Linked DNA regions of Homo sapiens: regions 1 and 3 are each linked to region 2. The links are contacts of gene promoters, found by promoter capture Hi-C in blood cells and fetal thymus (Javierre and others, 2016). All regions are on one chromosome and are shown on one strand. Each heading gives the region's core, a stretch centred on a gene start or on the middle of the fragment in contact. The rest is flanking DNA. Distances are from core to core; before and after follow the strand shown. Region 1 overlaps LARGE1 (LARGE xylosyl- and glucuronyltransferase 1). Region 2 holds the start of LARGE1 (LARGE xylosyl- and glucuronyltransferase 1). Region 3 overlaps LARGE1 (LARGE xylosyl- and glucuronyltransferase 1).

Region 1 (4,760 bases), core at 2,139-4,638, 410 kb after region 2:
TTATTTTAATTATTTATTTTTGAGATGGAGTTTCACTGTTGTCACCTAGGCTGGAGTGTAGTGGTGTAATCTCTGCTCACTGCAACTTCCGCCTTCCAGGTTTAAGTGATTATCCTGCCTCAGCCTCCCGAGTAGCTGGGATTACAGGCGCCTGCCACCACTCCCGGCTAAATTTTTGTATTTTAGTAGAGATGGGGTTTTGCCATGTTGGCCAGGCTGGTCTCGAACTCCTGACCTCAGGTGATCTTCCTGCCTCGGCCTCCCAAAGTGCTGGGATTACAGGCGTGAGCCACTGCGCCTGGCCCACCATTATTTGATTAGTTACTTGCAATCTACTTTTCTGTATATTTTTAAAGACTGTTGTTTTCCTCCTATATGTAATTCTGACTTCTGCCTTTTATTTTCACTTAATATTATCGATCTTTGTAACTGTCACTTTCATTGACTGGGTAATGTTCCATCTAGTGATAAATCATAATTTTTTAAAAGACATTCTCCTATTTTGGGCCAGTTAGGATGTTTCTGGTATTTTGAAGATTTAATTAAAGACTGTTGAATTTCTTTGGCATACAACATTCCCTATTTCAGATTCATTTTTAATATAAATTAGCATAGTATGATTCCTGGGTCAAAGGATTTGAATTCTCTTAATCTACAATATCAGTTTCCTTCCTAAGAGGCAAGTGTCTCTTTATACTGCAACCAGAATGTCAGAGAGAGCCCTGTCAGAGGTAAATTTAATATTTTAGCTCATAATGAAGTTCTATGACATTAATTTTTTACAGGACTTTTTTAAGAACAAGGAAAAAAATCATGGCTTTACAAAAAACAACTGTATGGTCAACCTACAAGTAAACAGTTCCCTTTCCTGGGCCTCAGGTACAATAAAGAGATGAGACAAGAAGATATGCTACAGTCCCATCCACTTGTAGGGGAGTTAGCCATTGCAGTTAGACAGTTTGACAAAAGCCATCTCTGGCTGTGGAATCAAAGGAGGAAAGGCTGGGTACTAAGTAGAAAAATGACATTTCGTTTCGTGGAAAACAAGCAACCTTGACATAACTCAGATTTGTCTTACAAGGATGGAATGAGCAGAACTTGCCTTGCCAGAGACGCAGTTCACAATGGAGGTAGTCAGAGATAAGAAGACAGACTAGGGCCATGCAGAGCTGAATGCATTCCTTCTACCAAGTCCTTTTCCAGGGTAAAGCTCTCCATCCCTGTCATAGGGTCTGCAAACATCACAGCTGCTGGGGTAGAGGAAGGGTCCATTCTCTAGACTGGATCATGAGATCAGTCCCACTGGTTGTACTTCTTAGGTCACCTAAAATCCATGGAATATTTGGGAACTATGATTACAGAGCTAGACGTGCCCTGGAATTTATCATGCAAAGCTGAATCCCCCCTCACTCTGAGTAACAACACAGAAAACCTCTTTAAATGCCAGGGAAATATCACCCTTGTTGTCTGTATCAGAGACTAAAAGTATTCTTAATAGTTTAAAGGGTACTCAATAAATATTACCACATGGGGTATTAAGCTTCCAGATTACCCCACCTCAAGGCATACAGCAGTACACACACAGGTACAACTCATGTGGCTGGCATCAGCAACATAAAGAAATAGCAGCAGTAAAAGCTGCGTGTGAAGATACCTGAGTACAGCTGCCACATGTGGAAACATCTGTCCAAATGGGAGGAAAGTCTGGCTGCCCCCGTTTGGTCTCATCAGTCATTTAATGGCCCATCAGTAAAACAGGAAGAAAATCACTATGTGTGTGATGGATTGCCCGACAATACAGAACTGTATCGGCACCCGCCACCTTGAATTGGGTTCATTTGTATATATGCTTGCCTTCTCTCAAGAACAGGGACCATTTGCCAGTCATTGGAGAGCCTGGGGCATGTAGCACGGACTTCAGAACCAAAAGCTAAGCCAGGCTGGGTGTGGTAGCTCACGCCTGTAATCCCAGCACTTTGGGCGGCCAAGGTGGGCGGATTGCTTGAGTTCAGGAGTTCAAGACCAGCCTGGGCAACATAGTGAAACTCTGTCTCAACAACAACAACAAAGAAATACAAAAAATTAGCCAGGCACGGTGGCATGCACCTGTAGTCACAGCTACTCAGGAGGCTGAGGTGAGAGGATCATTTGAGCCTGCGAGGCCAAGGTTGCAGTGAGCCAAGATTGCATCATTGCACCCCAGCCTACCCTCCTGGAGTTAGATCCTGTCTCAAAAACAAAACAGAAAACACCAAACCAGTTTTTAGCCTCTGTGGACTTTGGTATTTTCTTATCAGTGAAATGTGGGCTATACACACTTACCAGCGGAGGTGATAGAGTATAGCAGTCATTAGCACATCCTCTGGAGACAGGCAGCCTGGGTTCCAATTTTACCTCCACTTTTTACTAGCACGGAGACACAAGCCAATTGTTAGAGGTCTCCTCTCTATGGCTGAATTTCCTCATCTGTAAAGTTCCTAACTCATATAGTTATTGATTAAATCAGTAAATATGTATAAAATGCTTAGAGGAGACTTGGGACCTAGTAGGCATGTTATTCGAATTTGCTGTCATCACCACTACCCCCTTACAAGGTGGCTGCAGGGATTAAGACTTGCATGTTTAGACTGCTTCGTGCATGGTCGGTGCCTAATAAATGTAGTTACTATTATTGTGTTTACATCCCTAACTCCCAGTACATTGCTTGCTTATGGTAGTTTATTAAGTAGAATAATGAGCTCATTTCTCAGGTTTATTCTCTAATCTGTTAGGTAGGTGCTGGAATATTGATTTGGTTTTATTATTGTACTCACACATTCTTGTTCTTTAGGTTTCAAATGTAGATCAAAGCAAGGTCAGAGATGAGGGCTCACAGGGGAGCGGCGAGACTTTTTCCCAAATGCAAAATTGTCATAGGTTGGTGAAGCCCAGGTAAACATGCACCGCTCACTTTTCCTTCACTCTCTGCGATTCATTTCTGTCTAAATGAAAGCAGACGAGAGAGATTTTAAATTGCCCAGTTAGGTTTGGGCAAAACACAGATCATTTATAAAAACACAGAACATTTATAAAATCTTGGACGCAATGGCACACACTTGTAATCCCAGCACTTTCAGAGGCCAAGGTGGGAGGATCACTTGAGGCCAGGAGTTTGAGACCAGATTGGGCAGTATAGCAAGACCCTATCTGTACCAAAAAATTTAAAAATTAGCTGGGTATGGTGGCATGCACCTGTAGTCTGGGCTACTTGGGAGGCTGGGGTGGGAGGATCACTTGAGCCCAGGGCTTTAAGATTACAGTGAGGTATGATTGTGCTTTGCTCTCCAGGCTGGGTGACAGAGCAAGACCCTGTCTCTTAAAAAAAAAATAAAAATCCCTCTTTCCATAGAGGACTCTATTAAACATGACACCATTTCATCCTTGCAATGGAATGTGTGCTTGGGACCTCCAAGACAATTGTTTTTGTTGCACTGCCTCCATTTTGCAGATGAGACAGATGAGATGGGGAGAGGGTCTTGGATCAGGTTGAAGGAGAGTATTGATGAGGCCAGTGGTTCTCAACAGGTGGCCCTGGGACCAGCAGCATCAGCCTCACTTGGGAACTTGCTGGTATTCAAAGTCTTGGGGTGCACCCCAGGCATACTAAATCAGTAACCCTAGGGGTGGGGCCCTCAGTGATTATAATGCGTGGGAAAGTTTGAAACCCACTGGGTTAGGCGGATCATTTTAGGCAGGTGATGTCTTTTGGAAGGACAGCCTAAGGCCTGATATACCTGTTCTTTTCCTCACTCCCCAAGCAAATATATACCTGTGACCACACAATCAGAGCGGTAAATTGAAGCCAATTAGCAGCTAAGTAACTGCCAGCACTTGTCACCAGGGTAGTTGTTAGTAATTAGCACTAATGACTCTAGAGAGGAAAACAGTTGTGGTTCAAAGACATCCCCACCATTTGAATTCACTCTGGGTTTTTTCCCACACTTCCCTGCCATATTTTCCTTTTGCATGCAAACACCATCGCAGTTGGATGGATGCTTCTCGGGAGACAAATGTCACGTGAAGTAATAATATGCGATGAGTTTTTAATGCTTGCCAGGATGAGATTGTTCTGTTGGGGTATATATTAAAGTTGCCAATCAACCTTTTGGATACACCTGCATAATTCTGATAGGATGTCATGGATGTACGTTGTAACTTTCTCCAGGAAGCAAAAAGTGATTTATAAGCATGACAAATTGTTGAATGAGATCACCACATGACAGTTCTCTGCATTTGGTGAGAGTGTCGCGAGAAAGAAGAGAAACCAAGGAAAGAGAATTTTCACATAGAGAGTCAAATATGTACACTTTAGTGTTGAGTTACCAAATGTAGGTTTTAGAAAACCCTTTTAAGAAAATGGTAAGGGTGTAATTAACATGACCCTCTTACCTGGTTACCCATGAGTATAGTGTGCATTGGAAGAGGAGAAAGGCTGCCTTTGATCCATGTGCTCCTTGAAGTTGGCAGTGATTGTGTTTTACTCGTTCCCAGTGCCCTGCAGTGGCCCCTGTGCCTTGCCCAGGGTGACACCCACCAGTAGAGTCTTCAGAATGTCAGATTAAATTGAGCAGGGTGGGATCTAGCACCACCTGGTTTTGGCTATGTGAAATTCTGTTGTTCGGTGTAGATTCTGTGTGCTCCACTGTGATCAAAGCTCATCTCTGTGAAAGTTTTTGAGGCTGGCAGATGTTTAGTTGTGCAAGGTCTTGTTAATTAGGAGA
Region 2 (4,663 bases), core at 1,157-3,656:
GGAAGGAAGGACATTCGGGCGGCAAAAAAATAAAAATGATCCCCTTGTTTTCAGCGCGTTCTGGAACAGAGCTGCACGTCAGAGGAAGAACTGAGCAGCCTTCGAGCTAAAAGACTTGGCATTAAACTTTGACACTTTAATGGTCTCTAGGATATTAGATAGTATTTTTTCATATAATGTTCTTCTCCGACACGGTAATGGCATCAGAAACAGAATCTGCTATGCCTGCCAACGTGCACGGTGAGGCTCATCGCCGCAGAGGTAAGACAGCAGGACCCCAGCTTCGCAGTTAACTTATCCCGAAGCTCCAAAGCAAACGTCTTTTACTTCTTCGCCGGGGACGCTGCTGTACCACCGCTGCCTCCCTTTCGCATTCTGCTGGGCTCGGTCAGCCGCTGAGATTAGGTAAACAGCGCTCCGGAGCCGGGGCAAAGCGGGCGCTGCTGCTGCTGGTGGGGGTCGTTGTTTCACGAGGCTGGAGGGAAGGGGGATGGGAGAAGGGTCCCAGCTCGGTAAAGCCAAAGGCCGAGAGTGTGGTTACCGAGGCGGGAGCCAGGTCCGGAGCCAAGCAGGGGCCAAGCCTCCGAAGCCCTTGCCGCCCCACCCCCCCAGCCCGACCTCGAGGAGTGGGGTCAGCTGGGCAACCCAAGCTCGGCGGCCCTTTCCCGCGCGCCCCCTCCCCAGCCCATCCTTCCCCTGCCCCTTCCAAGAACTAGGGTGGGCTTCCCGCTGCCTCGCTCGAGTCCTGGAGAGCGGAGAGGCGCGCAGAGGGAAGGCAAAGACCCGGCGGCCCGCCCGGCTGGGGAGAGGTGGAGACCCGGGGGGAAGGGGACCCCAGAAGCCCTGGGACCGAGCTGCGGAAAAACCCGGGAGCTGGATCGCGCGCCCGGAGCTCCGGTCTCCGAGTCCGAGTTGTGCAGCTCTCGGCGTCCTCTTTCTCTCCCTGCCTCTCTGCTTTCGCCTCCTCTGGGTCTTCTCTCGAGGGCATCCTCCTTCCATCCATTCTCACACCCCCGCTCCTGTGCCCCGACCCATTTCACCCACTTCTCCTGTGGCTCGGGAGGACTCTCCGTACCCCCACCCTGGTCCCTAGAACTGGGAGGCTGGAAGTCCATTCAAGGGATGTTGCGCGCCGGGTTCTTATGCCAAGAGGGAAAGAGCGAGAATAAAATCAGCAGGGGAGGGGCGTGTTGTGCGTGCATGGGGTGTGTGTTTGGGGTGGAGGAAAAAGAAATGTAGTTTCCTCAGAGGAAGAGGAAGCCTTGGACAGGATTCTTGGATACCGATCCCAGAAAGATGCCGTCAGAGCCCTTCGGCGGGGCTCCTCACAGACTCCGGCTGCCCCACAGCATGCCCACCTCCGAGAGAAGCTGCGACCCGAGGCGGGGAAACTTCCTACTTCTCACGACGGCTGTTTTGTGCAATTTGGGGAGCAGGCTGCATGGTCCTGCAAGCCTGCGAGCCTCTCTACCACGGCAGCTGCGGGCCCGTCCCGCTTCCCTTCCCCCTTTTTCCGCGAGGCACGCCAAGCCCGAGGCGGCCGGGAGCCGCCGGGGTTGGGGGAAGAAGGGCGGGGAGCTCCCAGCTTGCACCCTTTCATCCCGACCCGGCCCGGGATCCCGGCTCCGGGTGTTGCTTCCGCCTGCCTGCCAGCCAGCGAGCTGAAGAAGCACCGGGGCGGAGTCTCGCCGGGGGGCGGAGCCTGTGCGGGGGCGAACTCTCGGTCCGCGCGGCTGCGGCGCTTGCCATTGGCCGGCCGCTCGGTCACGGGGTCGGGGGCGGGCGCCGACGCGGGCGCCGGCCCCGCCCCCGCTCGGAACCCAGCCCCGGCTCGCGGTCCCCCCCGGCTGCACAGACATGACACAGACACACAGTCACTGCAGCTGCTGAGCGAGTCCGGCGCTCTGGGCACGCGGAGGCGGCGGGGCCAGCCCGGAGCCCGGACCCCAGCGCCCGCCCCTGCCGGTTCCCGCGCGGCGGCCCACTCCTGGCCGGGCGCGGGAGGCGGGGATCGCGCGCCGGCTCCGGCCAGCGGCGCCCGGCTGCCCGCGGCGGCTGCAGCGGCCGCCCAGCTCCGAGCGCCGGGCGCTCCGGGAAGCCGGCGCATCTCGGAGGCGGCGGCGGCGGCCAAGGCCGGCGAGCGCTCCCGGCGGCGGGGGCCGCCCGCCTCGGCTCCCCGCACCCACCGCGCCGCGATCCACTCGCCGCGCCTCCGCTCCCGTGACCTTCCCGGGGCGCCTCCCCTAGCCCCGCGCCCCCGGCCCCGCGCCCCAGGCCGGGGCGAGGCCTTTTCCGGCGCTTCTTTCCCGCGGAGCCGCGGGCGGGCGGCGCAGGCCCTGGGGGAGAGCGCGCCGCGGCCGGTTGCAGCCCCCCCCGCGCCGCCGCGTTCGGCGCCCGGCCCGGCCAGTCTGCTCCTGCCCCGCCGCCGCGCCGGAGCCCGGGCGCCCGAAGCTGGGGGCGCGGCCGCGCTCGTCTCGCCGGGCTGTTCGCGGGCAGGCCCTGCCCTGAAGGGACGAATCGGCTTGGAGCGCGGGAGGTGGAGTCGGCCCCGGCGGTCGCTCCCTGGACCCAACCCGAGGCTGACCCAGGCCCCTGCCCATGCGGGGCGCCCCTGGCTCGGAAGAGTCCCCCGGGCCGGGAGCAGCTCCAGGCAGCGGCCCCGGAGGAAGAGGAAGAAGGGACAGTGCTCAGCTTGGGGGACCCGGACCCTCGCCGCGGCATTTGGAGCCGGGGGCAGTCCCGAACTCTGTGCTTGGCACCGCCGCTCCGAGTAGGGCAGCGCCTGCCGGGACCCTGACCCGGACCCCCTGCGCCTCGTAGGCGGCGGCGCCGCCGCGCCACCCTGTTCTTCCGTGTCTCCCTCTGCCTGGCGGCAGTCACGGCCAAGGTAAGAGCCCCGGAGCGCGAGAGTCGCCGCGGGGGCGCCGTGGTGTGTAGCGCCGGACAAGTTCTCCGAACCTGTGGCTGGTACCCCCTGTACTCGGGATGCCGGCGGGGAGGCCGGGCACACCCTCTGCTGCCCCGGCCGGGAGCCCTGGAGAGGCTGGAGGTGGAAGCCCCCAGTCTCCGAAGTCCCCAGGACCCCCTCAGGGCCTGCTCGGCTTCTGGGCACACAGGCTGCTGGCAGGGAGCGAGCCAGGAGGAGTTTCTGGTTAACACCACGAGGGCATGTGACCGATACCCGCACCCCCGGCCCTCTTGTTAGCGGTGAGCACCTGTGGTTCGCGGAGCCTGCCGTGTTTGGAGAGGGCCCTGTTGGGCGGTACGCAACTACCTTTCGTGGTGTGATGCTGTGAATAACTTTTCTTGTTCCTTCTTGCAGACAGTCCTGCGCAATTTGGGGGCGAGCAGCCACAGCTTGCGAGTCCCTCTTTAGGACAGAGTGGTTGGTTGGCATTGCTATCTGTAGGGGGGAAGCCCAGCCAGCATGTCCTTCCTGTTAGTCAAAGCTGCTTGTGAGGAGTGATCAGTGTATAGCTATCCAGACATTCTTGTAAATGTCACTGCTTTTGAAGTTTTGGAGTGAGGACTCCAAAGTTTGTGTATCCTCAAGTTATTTTGTTCATTGCCTTATCCTCTTTTAAATGTTCCTCTTAAGGAACCTCAGTTGTACAAGCCTGTCCTTGCCTGTTTGAAATTTATTAAACCTGTGAGCTTCCCCCAGAACAATCTGATTTTAAATGGGTCACTTCGGAGGGAACAGATTGTCTCTTGCACACTGAATCCATCCCTTGGGTGACCCTGTTTAATGGGGTTGGACTCTTTTTTTTTTTTTTTTTCGTCTCTGTGCTGATGTGCCTCGGTTGAGCAGGTTTCTGCTGAATTCAGAATCCGTGAATTTTGTCACTCAGTCCATTAAAATGATCTCCTGAGGGAGCAAAATAGCAGCTTACATTTTTCGTGAATGTCACTGGAAGTTTTACAGGGTCTTATGTAAGTGCCCAGAGAGAGAGAGAGAGGAGGGAGTGGGGGGAGATCAGGCTCCTGCTTCCTTCAAGGGGAGAAACGGAGGGGGTGGCAGGTGGGGGCGTCCGCCTCCCTGACATGCAGATGCCTTTCTTCTCTGACACAGGTGTGGAGACCTGAAGTGCTTATCATTCCGTGGAGGCAGTCACCTCGGGTTAATTTTTCTTCTCACTTCTCCTGTCTTCCCACCTCAGGAGTCAGCTTTGATAGACTTAAGATAAGGAAAGCTTCTAAATTAAGAAGGGAACAAGTGGTGGTTGTTTCTTCTCCCATCCCTCACAAATGGGTGACATGAATGAATTACTCACTGGCACGCTTGGTCCTCCCTAGGGGTAAAAATAAAAGAAATAAAAACGCCAGCTTTAAGATTTCACACATCTCTTAGTGTACCTTTATTGTTCAAGAGTACTTTAGTGAAAATTGCTTGTGGAGAACACATTTATCGAGCCTGTCCCTGTTAATTCCATACCAGGAAGAAAACTCACTCGAACAGAGAGGCAAAAATCACCAAGATTTAGAGGTTAGTGGGTTTTCAAGAGTGGCGAGGAAAGGAATCAAATCCCCCTGGCAGGAGAGAGAGGTTTTTAACGGGAAGATCGGATTGCTCTGGAGTGAGCAGTAGCTGCTGACAAGTGTGGGCCCTCCTGCTTCACTTAATGAAGTGTGCTGGGGTGTGGATTAACTTTTTGATGTGAGC
Region 3 (4,789 bases), core at 1,442-3,941, 390 kb after region 2:
AAGTCTGCCTTTTTATTTAGGATAGGAACCTCCAAAGCAGACTTCTCTTTACATCTGATAGTTTAGAAATTAGTTATAAGCTGAACCCTAGACCCTATCGCTGCTAGTAGGGAAGGGGATTACCATGTCTGGTTTATAGAGATTATGAGTTATTCCCTGAGGATAGGAAGAGGCCCACCTTTCCTGAAATCAGCAGTCTCCCGCTGCTGCCAAAACACAAACACATGGTTCTGTTAGCTGGTGAGAAGGAGGAAGATGGTTGGGTAGATATTAATAGCAGTGAGAATCCCTCATGAAGCTCAGAAAGGAGAAATAATCTTCCGAGAACACACAGCCAGCAAAGACAGAGTCAGTTGTCAAATTTGGGTTTGCCTTTGAAGCCCGTGTGCTTCCTATTTTACCATCCTGCATCTTAGAACATGCAGCCTTCTCATCAACCAGAGATGCTATCTGTTCCAGCAAACCTCAGAAAAAGATCCGATCCCCTGCCTTCGTTTCACAGATGGGAAAATAATGGCCAGCATGGGGGAAGTGATTCACCTAAGTTCACTGGCCTATTTGGCAGGCTGTGAGCCTCGTCATCTTTCCTTTTGGCATTTAGTACTTTCTGACCCGGTTAATAGCTAGGCACGTTGGGGCTGCTTTTGTCTTGTGTATACTTTATTGTCTGCTATCATTTTTTGCTTTAGCATCCCCATTGGTAAGTGCTCTTGCATGGATTCCCAGTAGGTAATGGGGCAACCACAGTAAATTAGGAAGGTAATTCGAGCTGTAGCATTTGATGCACCCCAGTCACAACTATGTTGTGCTGGTTCAACCTGAGGGACACATGAGCAGGAGGGAGGATAGAGAGCTCAGGGCTTGGGCTGCCAAGGCAAGGGGCCATCATGGTCCTCAAAGGCGATGAGCCAGGGATTAGAGAGGGCTCACCATTTCTACTCCTGAAAAAAAAGCAAGATAAGCTTTAAAGTCCCTTCCCAATTCTTTATAGAGTTTCCTTTGGCTAAGGCATAAGCTGATAGGAAAGATACTGAGGAAGGACAAAAGAGAGAATAATTAGAGGAAAAAAAGTGCTATTCCACGTGTAGGGAGTGAGATAAGGGAAGTGGTGAGTTGATGAGTTTCTCTCCTATAAAAGATGAGGCTGATGACATGAACTGTCTTTCAGGCTTGTTCTAAGAAGAGATGACTCCATACGTGCAAAATGCATAGAACAATGCCTGGCGTATAGTAGACACTCAATAAATGTTAAGTACTAAGAAATAAAAATAAAATCCTAAGCTCCCTAACAAATCAGACCATCTCTTGGTCAAGGAGACCCCAGAGTAACCTTGACAACTAAGTTGTCGGCCGTGATGGGTTGGGGGTGTCAGTGTCAAACATACCTCGTTATGCCCCCTCCCTCGCTAACCACCGTTAGGCTTTCTTCTGCAAGGGATTGACAAAAACCAGCCCTCTCAAGAGACTGATATCTACTAACCTGCTGATGCTGCCCCTCCTTTTTCACCTGATCAGAGATCACCCAACACAGAGTGGTTCTGGCCAGTCTATGGAGAATGTGCAATAAGAGTTTTTGTGTCCTTTGCTTCACCTTTTGACATCAGAGGATCAAAACCTCCACCCTTGGATAATGCTAACTCTGCCATTTTTTGTTCATGAGACACATGAAGGGCCATGAAGCTCAGTTGCTCATGGGCACGTGTCTCCTTTTATAAATATTCATGACTCCTCCTATAGCTTATTGAATATGTATATTTGGTCACCCTGATCAGCATAAATTTCTGTTTCCTTTTTCCCTCTGGTGAAGTGTCTGTTTCTGGTTTCTGACGGAGTCTACAGTCCCCAGCCTGTTAGAATAGCCACCATGCAGGCTGCGACCCTTTATGAGAAATAAATCTCTCCTTTCCAAATTTATGAACTTCATCATTCTTTAGCTGACACTACTGTATTATCCTTAATATTGGACATTTTGTGAGATTTTACCCCGCCCCGCCCCCCCCGACCTCTGCCAGAACCCACAGTTTGAAGAACAAAGTGGGTATGTCTACTCTGTACAAGGATCTGTTGCTAGAATATTTTACTCATATGGGTTTTTTTCTCGTTTAATCTTTCCAGCAGCCTGAGAGATCAATATTAATATTCTGATGTTACAGAGCAGAAAATCTGGGGGACCCTGAAAGATTAAGATCTGTTCAAGTCCAAAAAGACATTGGCACCAAAGTTGTTCTGCTTTTCCATGCAGGAACTCCACCTCTGCCTACAGCCAGCTGAGTCCTGCTCTAGGAGCAGATGTGGTTTGTCATTTGGGAACCACTGTTTACACCTCCTCCACTGTCTCCTGGGCCCTTTCTCCCCCTCCCTTCTTTCCTTTTGTTATTATGGTTTGTTCTGGTCAAGGGGCCAGTCACTTTCTCTTTGTGCTGTCACCTTCCTTTAATGGGTTCCACATCTGGGCAGATGATTCTACCTTCCCTCTAAAGAGGGTGTAGAGGAGCCAGAGAACCTCAGACTCTGGGTGGGGTGGGTGTCACACCGATGCAGGAGCATGTCAAGGAGAAAGACAGCAAGAGGGATTAAAGTTGGCACTCATCTTTGAGAGAGCCTCTGAACTGATTGCCATCCGAGTGCCACCCACCAATGAAAGGCCGTTCAGAATTTCTGTCCCCTGGGAACATAAATCCGATCGCCTTGGCTCTGTGTCTCCACTGCATCATCTCACTGGCCCTTTGAGCTCCTTCCACGTGGTAATGCCGTTATCTTTGTACGTGAACCACCTGCCTCAGAACCATTTGGAGTACGCTTGGGAAAACAGAGTTCCAAATCTAGCTCATCCGACCTATAGGGGTTTTTATCCTTGGAATTCGCTTCTTTTTTGAGACGGAGTTTTGCTCTTGTTGCCCAGGCCGGAGTGCAATGGTGCGATCTCGGCTCACTGCAACCTCTGCCTCCCATGTTGAAGTGATTCTCCTGCCTCAGCCGCCCGAGTAGCTGGGATTAGAGGCATGCGCCACCATGCCTGGCTAATTTTGTATTTTTAGTAAAGATGGGATTTCTCCATGTAGGTCAGGCTGGTCTCGAACTCCTGACCTCAGGTGATCCACCCGCCTCGGCCTCTCAAAGTGCTGCGATTACAGGCGTGTGCCACTGCACCCAGCCGGAATTTCCATTTTTAAGCAACTCCCGTGGTAACGCAGGTGCTGTCTTCAGGCCATGCTTTGAGAAATGCTGTAGTCAACTGTGAGCTGCAGGGGAGCATGTCTGTGACTCTCTCTTTGTATTCACAACCCCTTGCCTTGTGTATTTTTTTAATCAAATGGTGGATTAATTGAGTATTTGATTAATTAGTGTACAAAGAGAACAGAAGGAAGTCCGGGAAATGGAAAGTTTTAGTTTCTCAAGAGTAAAGGAAAACAGAATAAATCAAAGTTACCCTGGAAGATCAGAACAGCCTTTGCAGTTGATGGACTTGTGTTCTGTGTTCTCTCTCTGAACTCTTCCCAGCGCCTGTCCAGCGTAGGCTCTCTGCTGAGCCATGTGAGAGCACACGGATACTGCACTCTCTGAATCTTGTACACTACAGAAGTTTCATTACAAGCAAAACCCTTAGTCCAGGCACCTAGCTGAAATGTGAACAGGTGCCCATTCTAGGATTCTTCATCTGATAAATGCCTGCAAAGGCTCCAAGTCCAGCATTGAATACTGCCTTTTCTCTGAAGCCTCTTCTCTCCCCTCAAGCCACGTAAGGTCCATCTCTCTTTTCTTTAAGTGTCATCTGTGGCGAAAACAGGCCTCTTTAAGTCTCTGGCATTGTACCTATTTGTTCACTTGTGTGTTTCCTTCATTAGACTAGAAACTCTTAAGACAGGCTCTCCACTAATCCTCTGTAGAATTTTTTTTCATATAAATATAGTTTTTTTCTCTTATAAATACAGTCGTAAAACATTGCTATCTTTTGTAGCTTCTTTCAACCTAACATAATGTTTTCAAGGTTAGTCCATATTGTAGCATATGTCTGTAGCACATTTTTTATGGCCGCATTATACTCCGCTTTATGGATATATACCACATTTGTAATGCTTTCATCAGTTGATAGATACTTGGGCAGTTTTCACTTTTTGACTACCATGAGTAATGTTGCTATGAATATTTCTGTACATAGTTTGTGTGGACATACATTTTCAGTTCTCTTGAGTATATTCCTAGGAATGGGGCTGCCGGGTAATATGTTGACTCCATGTTTAACATTTCGAGGAATTGCCAAACCATTTTCCAAATGGCTGCACCATTTGCAAGGCTGTATTTTACAAGTAGCTGTTCATATGCTAAGAATACCAATCCGCTGTGTCTTCACTGAATGCCAGCTAACCAGACAGGTGAAACACAGGTGATGAATTTGGAGTCAAGACCTGCAGAAGCTTCCCGTCCCCGTAGCCTCTCTGAGCACTCATTCAGAAATAATGAGTGGATCCAGTATGCTGGGGGGGAAACATAGGGGACCCAGGACTTACGGGTCACCTAGGAACAGATGAAGTTGTTTAACCATGAGCTAAAGGCAGGATGGTATTTAATAGATACATTTTCATATCTGGGACCTGCATCTTGATTATAGATCAAATATCACTTGCATTTGTTTTTCTTTACTCTCAGTGACATGCAACAGAAGACAGGCTTTATTTGAGAGGCTGTTTCATGCAGCTTTCAGCTTGTTTCAGTCTCTTTGTCTACCTTGCCCAGTAGTCACAACCAAGATTCTGAATACCTCCAATTTCTTCTTGGAGATCATACTTCT

What was found. Contacts are between HindIII fragments. The CHiCAGO score rates a contact against its expected background, and 5 or more counts as called.
Region 1: a fragment that was not itself captured here is called in contact with the fragment with the promoter of LARGE1 in region 2 in 2 of 17 cell types (naive B cells and total B cells); the score reaches 8.7 in naive B cells.
Region 3: a contact is called between a fragment that was not itself captured here and the fragment with the promoter of LARGE1 in region 2, in 2 of 17 cell types (naive B cells and total B cells). The highest score is 7.6, in naive B cells.

What each region holds. Positions count from the first base shown.
Region 1 is chr22:33,508,065-33,512,824 of GRCh38, reverse strand. All of the region lies in intron 6 of LARGE1 (LARGE xylosyl- and glucuronyltransferase 1), which reads left to right. Among named protein-coding and RNA genes, the nearest start is that of MIR4764, 74 kb to the right of the region's middle. The HindIII fragment of the contact is 3,692 bases long and covers 1,543-4,760 here.
Region 2 is chr22:33,918,219-33,922,881 of GRCh38, reverse strand. It overlaps LARGE1 (LARGE xylosyl- and glucuronyltransferase 1), which reads left to right and starts at 2,406. Exons shown (of 15, transcript NM_133642.5): 1 at 2,406-2,887. LARGE1-AS1 (LARGE1 antisense RNA 1) reads right to left here and starts at 1,657. Exons shown (of 2, transcript XR_001755630.2): 1 at 1,359-1,657; 2 at 1-475. RefSeq lists silencers at 1,539-2,038, 2,359-2,508, 2,779-2,878. The HindIII fragment of the contact is 4,427 bases long and covers 1-4,195 here.
Region 3 is chr22:33,525,342-33,530,130 of GRCh38, reverse strand. All of the region lies in intron 6 of LARGE1 (LARGE xylosyl- and glucuronyltransferase 1), which reads left to right. Among named protein-coding and RNA genes, the nearest start is that of MIR4764, 91 kb to the right of the region's middle. The HindIII fragment of the contact is 3,453 bases long and covers 965-4,417 here.